Regions from separate parts of the Homo sapiens genome. Here region 1 is linked to region 2. The links are contacts of gene promoters, found by promoter capture Hi-C in human tissues and cell types (Jung and others, 2019). All regions are on one chromosome and are shown on one strand. The core of a region is centred on a gene start or on the middle of the fragment in contact, and the rest is flanking DNA. Distances in the headings are between cores, read along the strand shown. Region 1 overlaps USP13 (ubiquitin specific peptidase 13). Region 2 holds the start of GNB4 (G protein subunit beta 4).

What was found. Contacts are between HindIII fragments. The study calls those that stand out against the background at their distance.
Region 1: a contact is called between a fragment that was not itself captured here and the fragment with the promoter of GNB4 in region 2, in 1 of the 25 tissues and cell types used here (pancreas).

Annotation. Positions count from the first base shown.
Region 1 is chr3:179,660,793-179,665,603 of GRCh38, reverse strand. All of the region lies in intron 1 of USP13 (ubiquitin specific peptidase 13), which reads right to left. Among named protein-coding and RNA genes, the nearest start is that of USP13, 10 kb to the right of the region's middle. The HindIII fragment of the contact is 3,863 bases long and covers 493-4,355 here.
Region 2 is chr3:179,447,856-179,452,855 of GRCh38, reverse strand. GNB4 (G protein subunit beta 4) reads left to right here and starts at 1,386. Exons shown (of 10, transcript NM_021629.4): 1 at 1,386-1,510. It also overlaps the pseudogene RPL29P34. RefSeq lists silencers at 1,216-1,365, 1,406-1,815. The HindIII fragment of the contact is 18,692 bases long and covers 1-5,000 here.

The DNA.
Region 1 (4,811 bases), core at 1,175-3,674, 210 kb before region 2:
AAAAAAAAGAAAAGCCTTAAATATCCTATAAGTGCTGCAGGGTCTAACTTCATGACTCATCAGGGCTTAAAGACCACCTCTGTCATGAAGCCATCTTTGAACAAATCCTTGAACAAATTACCTAACCTCTCTGACTCTCCATTTCCTCATCCGTAAAACAGGGGCAAAATCGTAACTATAACATGTAAGCCAATTACTATCATAATTAAATGAGATGACGTACATAAAAGTGCCTGGCATAGTGTTTGACTCATAATAGACACTTGACGGATTGGAGTTAGCTCAAGCGGTTATGTCCTCATGCCAGACTTTCCATAATAGACACTTGAAATTAGCATACACACTCCACTACGATAGAGATCCTGCCATGGTCCTCTGTTTCCCTCCCACTTACACCCTCTCTACCCCTATAATACCAACTGCAGTGCAGAGTGCACAGGAAGCCATAAGTCAGTATTAACACTTGTTAACTAACACAAAGCAGAATGTTTCCTTTTTAATCTTTTTTTTTTCTTTTGAGACAAGGTCTCACTCTGTTGCCCAGGCTGGAGTGCAATGGCGCGATCTTGGCTCACTGCACCTCCGCCTCCTGGGTTTAAGCGATTCTCCTGCCTCAGCCTCCTGAGTAGCTGGGATTACAGGCACCTGCCACCATGCCAGGCTAAGTTTTGTATTTTTAGTAGAGACGGAGTTTCACCATGTTGGCCAGGCTGATCTTGAACTCCTGACCTCAGGTGATCCGCCCACCTCAGCCTCCCAAAGTGCTGGGATTACAGGTGTGAGCCACCACGCACCATCTTTCCTTTTTAATCTTACCACATGAGGCACATACTATCTTGCACCTCAAGCAACATCTCTGTCCAGAGGCGTATTCAGATTCATTAAATTCTTGTCATTGTTACATTGTCCTGTTGTTCTAGCCCTAAAAATAGGTGTTCCTGTTCACATCTTCCCTGTGCCTGGGAACAAGGGGAGTCCTAACTGATCACCACAATACTGAACAGACCAGACAGAGGCCTGATCTGCAACCATAGATCCCAGTCCTCTTGTCATCTCCCTGAGGGGCCCAATGTGGGATCTTTTACCAAGCACCCTAGAATCACAACATATAAAACATTCAGCAAGTACTCGAGACACTTTTCCCTGGCTTTTCAAGGGTCAAACCTATGATGTTTCAGATAATAAGATAACATGAAAATATCATATTGGCGGCTGGGTGCGGTGGCTCATGCCTGTAATCCCAGCACTTTGGGAAGCCAAGGCAGGTGGATCATTTGAGGTCAGGAGTTTGAGACCAGCCTGACCAACATGGTGAAACCCCATCCCTAGTAAAAATACAAAAAAAATATCCGGGCATGGTGGTACACACCTGTAATCCCAGCTTGAACCCAGGAGGCAGAGGTTGCAGTGAGCCAAGATCATGCCACTGCACTCCAGCCTGAGCGACAGACCAAGACTCCAAAAAAAAAAAAACACACCCAGAAAATCAGAAAAGATGCAGGCTTAATGGCACAGGTTCACAAACTGTGTAGTTTTCAGTTCTCTACTCTTTTCCTTTTAATTCTCCAAGACCTCAGCTATTCCACATCCCCACAATCTGTATCCCACCCATGACAGAGATGTACAAAGTGAAGGCAAAGGAAAACAGATATCTAACTCAGCTTCTGAGGATGGGAGGAGTCCTCACAAAGAACATCTGAGCTGGCTTTAAAGGACGAACAGGGCTTTTCCAGGAGGATGAGGGTGAGAGAATGCATTCCAGGCCAACGCAAGAGCATGAGCAAGCACATGGAGGGGCAAGAGCATGGAGCACCTAGAGAATGGAAAGTCTTTTGGGACAGACAGAAAGTAAGCAGAGGGGCAGGAAAGCTGGATCAACAAGGTAAACTGAGGTGATGTGCCATGTTAGAAAAGTCTGAATGGCACCATTGAGGATTTCAAGGCGGGCAAATGAGATGATCAGACCCCTATTTTAAAAATATCCAAGAGTGTAGTGTGACAGACTGGAAGGGAAAGTAAGGTGGTTGTTAGGAAGCTTCTGCCACAGTCCAGGTGAGAAAGGATGAGGGCCCGAGCCTTAGCAGTGCAAGGGAGAGAGGAGGATATACCAGAATTTGGTGACTGATGGGATATGATGCTAAAAGAGACAGTGAGATAGCCATGTTCATGGCAGCACTATTCACAGGAGCCAAAAGGTGGAAGCAACCCAGTGTCCCTGACAGATGACTGGATAAACAAGATGCGGTATATACACACAATGGGATATTATCCTGCCTTACAAAGGAAGAAAATTGACACAACAACATGGATTAACCTTGAGGACATTATGCCAAGTGAAATGAATCAGTCAAAAAGGACAAATATTGCATGATTCCACTTGTATAAAGTACCTAGAGTGGCCAAATCTTAGAGACAAAAAGTTGAATGGTGGTTGTCAGAGGCTGAGAAAAGGGGAGAACAGGGAGTCATTGTTTAAAGGGTACAGAGTTTCTGTTTTGCAAGATGAAAAGAATTCTGAAGACAGACAGTGGTGATAACTGCAAAACAGTGTGAATGTACTCCAATGCCACTGAACTGTACATTTTAAAATGGTTAAGATGGTAAAGTTTATGTTATATGTATTTTATCACAACTTAAAAAATAAAAAGAGAGAGAGGGAGGTAGAATGGATGATACCATACACCTCTCAATCTGGGGCACTAAAATGGATGGCCGCTCCTTTAACTGAGCTCCAGTCCATAGGGAGAGGAATGCAGGGGAGGAAAAAGAGAATTCAGAGTTGCACAGATGTCCAGATCCAAAATGAGCAGAGAACATGAACTTTTCCAAAAAGTCTTTCTGACAGGATCAGCATCATCTCTCACATTCCAAAGCTCTAAAAATGGTACAACTTTAAAGGTAATGAACTACTGTCCAAAAGGGACAGCAAGTGACTTCTTGATTATGATTTTAGAAAAGCAGGATTTTAGGGTACACATGGCAAATGACACAAAGACATCCATTTCACTCCTTTCTGAAACCCCAATCAAAGGACAGCAAAGGGATTTTTTCAAGACATAAGCTATAGCACTAAAGTCTGGAAAGCTGGACGGCAGGTAAATGAATGCTAAAAGACTAAGATGGCAACAGAGCTGAATCCTAGGCCAGCAGCAGGGAAAGCCAAGATCCAACCTGATCTTCACCCCAGAATGCCCAAAAGACTCCAGAACTGGCAATTCAAGATAACTCTGGAAGATGGGGTGAAGTAGGAGCTAAAATAAAGAGAAAGGTTTTCTATGTAGCCGTCAGAGCCCCAAACCTCACCTCCACTCCAAGAGGCCCCTCCCTCTCCTGGCAAAGAACTAGAGAGTGATTCTCTAAAGCAGACAAAAACAAAGGTTTCAGCGCTGGGGAAGAATGAGCTTAGTTAAGAATAGAGGCACCATCACGAACATGGGGACTAAGAGAATGTATGTGTATCAGTCCAGATTTGGTCAGAAAATAGATGCTATTCAGGTATTACAGGCAGGAAGAGATTTGATACAGGAAATTAAAAGCTTAAAAAATCATGGAAAGGGCATGAGAGCCACAGTCAGAGAAATCACTGCCTATGTTCAGGAACTCAGGATGTACAAGCGTCACAAGAAACTGCACAGATGACGTCAGAATCCCCACCACTGAGGTAACTGTGTCCCAGAAGGACACTCAGATGCTGCTAGGAAAACCTCACATCGACCAGGTGCCACAGTTGCAATAGCAAAGTGGCTTCTCCTTCTCTTTTGCCTTCTAAATCTCTTACTGGAAAAATCAGTATCAGAATCTTGCCACCAAGGGACTCTGGGAAATGCAATGTCCAGGAGCCAGCCCCTGCAATGATGGGAGAAGCTTAGCAAAGCAGGGACACAGCTGAGAACCTACAGGCAATATCCAGCTGGTATCGAATACCCAGATGCTGAGACCACCTTCACCCTCCACTCCCACTCAGTTCCCTAAATACTGGTAGACAGGCCTGTATTTTCCAGGCAAGAGATTAGAATAGTCTCCTACCTGGTAGCCAAAGGAAGAAAAAAAAATCACACTAACATTTAAGCTTCCCCAAAGAAACAGCCCAGCCAGGTCACCCTACAATGAAACTCACAGTTCAGAGAATAAAAAAAAAAAAATCCTATCTATGAAATAGTAAATTCCCAGCTCAAGTAGCTCTAATTTTTTCAAAAAGTGTCAATCAAACTCTCTAAATTTTAATTTGCTTCAAAAAGAATGTGCATGCAACATATGACATCTATGGTTGAGCTAAAATTAAGATAATAATTTAATGTGAACCCATAGGCTACATTTCAGGTGAGGTAAGTGACTGGAATAAGTGGTTATATCTTCTTGCCTAAACTCTAGAACTTTGGTTTCCAAAGTAAGGCCTGGTAACCCTCTGACACCCCAGAGTCTTTAAGTAATTTGGGAGGTCAAAACTATTTTCATAACATGAAGTTACTTGCCTTTCTCTCTCTCATTCTCTCATAGCACACAGTGGCATTTTCCCAAGGCTACGTGACATGCAATGACATCATTTCAAAAGCCAATAGAATGTAATTGTTCAAATTGTTTTAAATTTTTCTCAGTTTTAACTTCTAATATGGTAAATAGCAACAGAAATCACACAAAAGCTTTTTGCGGTTCTCAAAAATAGTTAAAGAGTATAAAGAGGTCAAAAAGCTTGAGAATCACTGCTCGAGAACAACTTTTCAGCTAGTTGCTTTTGGAAGGAAGCTTTTGACATGTGAAACTAATAAGATTTACTTTAAGTTTATATCTTCAAAGTGGAAAAAAGTCTGTCT
Region 2 (5,000 bases), core at 137-2,636:
CAGATGCAAAACACTCATGTCCCAACGAGCTCTTCTGACACTTTGATATGCAGAATATTTGGCATTTCTTTCTTCTTAATGGAAAAATGCTCCTAATATTAGTAAAAATGAAAATTTTGGGGGAAAAATTATCCACAGTTTCTTTATCTGTGGATAAAGAAAATAGAAACAGCTGCTTCTATTTTTGTCACGGCCTGGCTTTTATACAAAACGGTCACATTTTCCCCACAGTCACAAACAGGGTGTGTTTATCATGGCATCACCTCTTTCAAGGGACTAATAGATTTATTCCAGGTGATAGTGGGAAGCAGCTACAGAAGGAGGATTGGAAGGCTGAGGGGTTGTTAAAGTTATCTGATGATATTGTTCGAACATTTCTCCGGCACAGAAACTCCACAAAGAACTCCTCTGCAGTTTTCGCTACCCAGGGCTGTTTCTTTAAATTGTTTGACGTCAGAGAAGGAATGCTATAGCAACAGTCTGTCAAACTGGAATTAACTCAGAAGAAAAATGGGGGTGGGGAGAGGAAAAATGCTCCCAGGCGGTACTGACTTCAGAGGAAGCAAATTGGATAGATGCATTTATTTTATGACATTTTAAACATAAAACACCCAGATAAATGTGAAAAAAAAAAAAACTCGATTGAGATGCATGTGGTGTTTAACTCATGCAGAGAAGAGCGACTTGGCAGGGATATCTGGAAGGCCTTCCAGTTTTATCAATGACAATAGGAACAATAACTTCCAAGTATTGGCCATTTATTTGGAGGCAGGCTTCGTGCAAACATCACTTCATTTAATATGCTTAGCACCTTTATGAGGCAGGTATCAGTATCTTTATTTTGGCGATGACGAAACTTAGGCCCGAGACGGTACACGGTCCTACAACTAGTGATGGAAGAGCGGGGACTGCAACGCAAGGTTGTGCAACTCTGGGCTTCAGTTTACTTTCTGACATTTAGAATTCCAGAATGGGAAACCTAAATGGGGCCTTTGGGGTCTTCTAGCTCTGCCCTTCGATCCTGCTAACAAGCAAACTGGCGCCTGTCAGCGCCGGAAAGGAAACTGGCCACGCCACTTAGACGGGCGCTACTTAGCAGCGTGCCCCGGCGCCACACCAACAAGAAAACGAAACTGCCCGGGAATGAATGTTTTTCTTCTCCTTCTGGCAGGAAACGAGAGAGAAAATAGGAAGCAGAAGCTGCGCGCGGCGCCCGCTCCCTTCGCCCCCCGCCCGGGCTGCGCGCGCTCCGAGGGTCTGCGCGTCCCCGGCACGTCCCCGCCGGGCCCGCGCGCCTCGTGCCTCGCGCCTCGCGCCTCCAGCCACGTCCCCGCCCCGGCTCCGGCGCGCCGCGGAGTTGGCTGCTGGGAGGTGCGGGACTGGGTGTGGCCGGCGGCTCTGGTCTCGGCTGTGAGCTGCGCTCTCCACGCCGGCTCCGCGCTCCAGGGGCTGCTGAGCGCCCAGCGGACACCGGCAGCGCGCGGTCGACGCGGGCCTGAGCTCCCTCCAGGTAGGCGGCGAGCTCGCGAGCGGCGGCTCGTCGGTGCGCCCCGCGAAGCGATCCCGGGCTTCTCGCAGGGACGTGGGGCGCCGCGAGCCACCCCTGCGGAACGGGGCCCGGGTGACGGCGCGGGGCGGGGCGGGTCTCCCCGGGCTCGGGCGGCCGACGCTGCCCGGGAGGGACGAGGAGGGCGCGCCTGTGTCGCGCCCAGCTGCCACGCGGGAACTGGCCCCACGACCGCCGGCGCAGGCACTTCCCGGGCGGTCCAGACCGCTCGCCCCGGGGAGCGAGGAACGGTCGGCGGTCCAAGTCCTGCAGACCCCCCTGGTTTCTCGTCACTCCCCGAGGCCTCCTTCCAGGAACTCAGAGCACGAGCCCGTGCGTGCCCCCAAAATAACGGGTATTCGGGACTGCCCAGCAGGGCTGTTGGGTGGAGAGTGCTTGGAAGACTCATAAAAGTTCTACGCTGAGTCCAAAATTAGTCCAATGGTTTTGTTTCAGATTTATTTTGGAAATGATATAATGTCCAGAGTTTGGGGATGGGAGGGGATTGATGAATTTTGAATACTTGTGAGTTCAGTACAATAAAAAGTGTTTTGCTTTTCTCTCCACCTTTTTCTGCTTCAGAACACAGATGATTGCCATATACTTTGATATGTATTGCTATTCGCTAAGGGAACGTTGAATTTTCAAAAGTTTGAAACCAGGCTTTCATTTGTTTATACAAGCAATACTTTGTTATTTTTCGTCTCCTTGTGTTCCCTTTTCTCCCACTCCTTCCCTTTCTCTTTCCATAAAGGATAAGGATGCATCTTTCTCCCTCTCAGCCACCGACAAAGTAGCTTGGCGTGTGGCTTAGCGGGAAGTTTTCTTAAAACGTTCAAAATTTAATTGTTGATTAGAACTTTTATTATGAGTCCGTCTCAGTGTTGCAAACAGAGTTTATGACCATTAAGTACATCTTCTAGGACAGAGACAGAACACACGCTACTTAATTTAAGATGGGAGGGAAGTTATTTCTAGTCGGAGAGGAGGACGGCTGATTAGGTGCATTCAAAATTGTGTGCTTCGAGTCTCTGCCATTGTTCATTTTAATACTCTTCAGTTTGGGGCTTTTGGTTTACTACTGATCCTAGGCTCTGAAAATTTACTGTATATTTCAGTATGTGGCTTAAAGACATTTTAAGATTTTCCATGTTGCATTTTGGTTTGTAGATGAATTTGAAACTGAAATAGAAACTTTTAAAATATCATCTTATTGAACGTTGTCAACCCTCTGTATATACATTTATAAAACTGATTGATACAGCTTGTGATATTTTAGGTTGGTTCAACTCTTTGTGGGCCCATAAACATTATTTAGGAAGTTATTCCGAGTCTTTGGCCTTTGTTAACCTGTAGAATTGTTTCTTTTAAACAATTGGCATGTAAGTATGTCAGCACATACTTTTACACTTTAAAAATAGACTCTGGGGCAATTTGAAAATTAAGAATTGGAACTAAGTGTTGGACATTCTTCTGGCCTTACCAAATACTGCCTGAGATGGTGTGATTTCTCTTAGGCATGTTATTGAAGTCAGCTGGCTGTATCATCAGTTTCTTTACCTTGCTGACTATTTTAATCTGCGTCTGTTATGGACTTATTTATTAAAATATCTCTTCTGGGCTGGGGCAGTGCTGTAAGTTATTCTACTTATATCTCACAGTAACACCATTATCTACTTCCACAGGTAAGGAAATTGTCTGTGAGGTTTTAAGTAACTTGGCAGTGGTCATGTAGGTGTTAGGTAACTCAACTGGGATTCGAAGCAAGACCCCTCTGTTTCCAAAGTCCATGTTCTTTCCCCTGAGCCATATTAACTTAGTTCGAGGGCATGAGGAGTGACCCTCAATTACTCATTAGCATGTGTGTAAAATATCCAAGACATGCCAGAAGCATGTTTGTTTTTCCAGCATGATCATTATTGTCTGTCCCATGTTTTTATACAGCTTCTCACATCAGCCATTCTCTTCTCACCACTCTACTCCTAGTTAAATGTCTTGTTCCAAGTTCAAAACCTCCCTTTTGCCAGGGCACAGTGTATCCTATTGATATTAATAGGTAGTGATGGCTTAATTATCTTGATAAAACAGTAACTCCATTTTAATGTGGGTTCTCTAGAGATAGAGTTATAACTAATTTGGAAGGTTACAAACAGGATTGCGGTCAATTTTGGGATATGAGAACCCTTTGATATCCCTCAAATTAAACTAGAGGATATTTTGATGGATATTTCCCTCTGCAATTTATCATACTCTCTCCTGCACCTTCAATTTGTCAGTTACTACAGAATCATTTACATTATTGTACAGTCTGCCATTTTAAAATAAAATGGTTTCTTGATCCAGTGTTCTGCTTCAGTGACTGCCTCATTTCTTTTTATTTATTTATTTTTATAAATAGAAGCGGGATCTCGCTGTGTTGCCCAGGCTGGTCTTGAACTCTTGGGCTCAAGCAGTCCACCCACCTCAGCCTCCCAAAGTGTTAGGATTACAGGCGTGAGCCACGGCGTCTGGCCCTGCCTCATTTCTCTACCTCACCTTGAGGAAGCGTAGTTTTTTGACAGAACAAAAAATAAATACAGGAGTGAGAACCAGAAACTAATTAGTTACCTACAGGCACCGGGTAGGAACTGAGTAAATGGGAACAACAGAAGGAATGGCCTTGTTCTGAATGTACTTTTTTGCATAGTTTTGAGTTTTGGAAACTGTTAGTCTTTTTTATGTTCAAAAATAAAATTAACAAGATGTGGAGAGTGGGACTCCAAAACAATACAAACAGCAACAACAAACCGTGTATTTATGTGAATAATATAAACTCCCAGAAGAAAAAAAAAAAAACCAAGTAAGTTTTGAGCACAGGATTAAAGATTAAAGAACTGAAAAAATAATCTTGAACTCTGTGTAGTAGGCTATTATTTGTATGGTAGAGGTGTAGCAATTCTGAAACTATTTTGTGTGCATTATAGGATTGAGCAAATGAGTAAATTCATTGATATTTTGGGAACTAGGGTTTCCAACGTGGAAGAAGAGAAATGAAAACATGAAACAGGCCAGGCGCGGTGGCTCACACCTGTAATCCCAGCACTGGGAGAAATGAAAAGTTAAAAATAAAACTTCAAACAATAACAATGCAGCTTTGCTTCAAAAAGAAAATCTTTGAAGGGACTCCATGTAGGCTGTCTCTACTCCTTATCTGCCATCTTCTTCTGAACCCGCTTCAGAGACACATTATCCCTCCTACTCCATGAAACAATTCTTCTCCAGGTCACCAGGGATGTCAGTCTTGCCAAACTGGATCTTCAGCCACATTTGACACAGGCAACAGATAACTCCTTCCCTATCAAAATGTCGTTTCCCCTTGGCTTCTGGGACACCGCTCTTTCTGATTTTCATCCTGCCTCATTGGCTACAGTTTCTCATTCTTCTCCATCTCAGTCAATGGTACCACCATCCACCA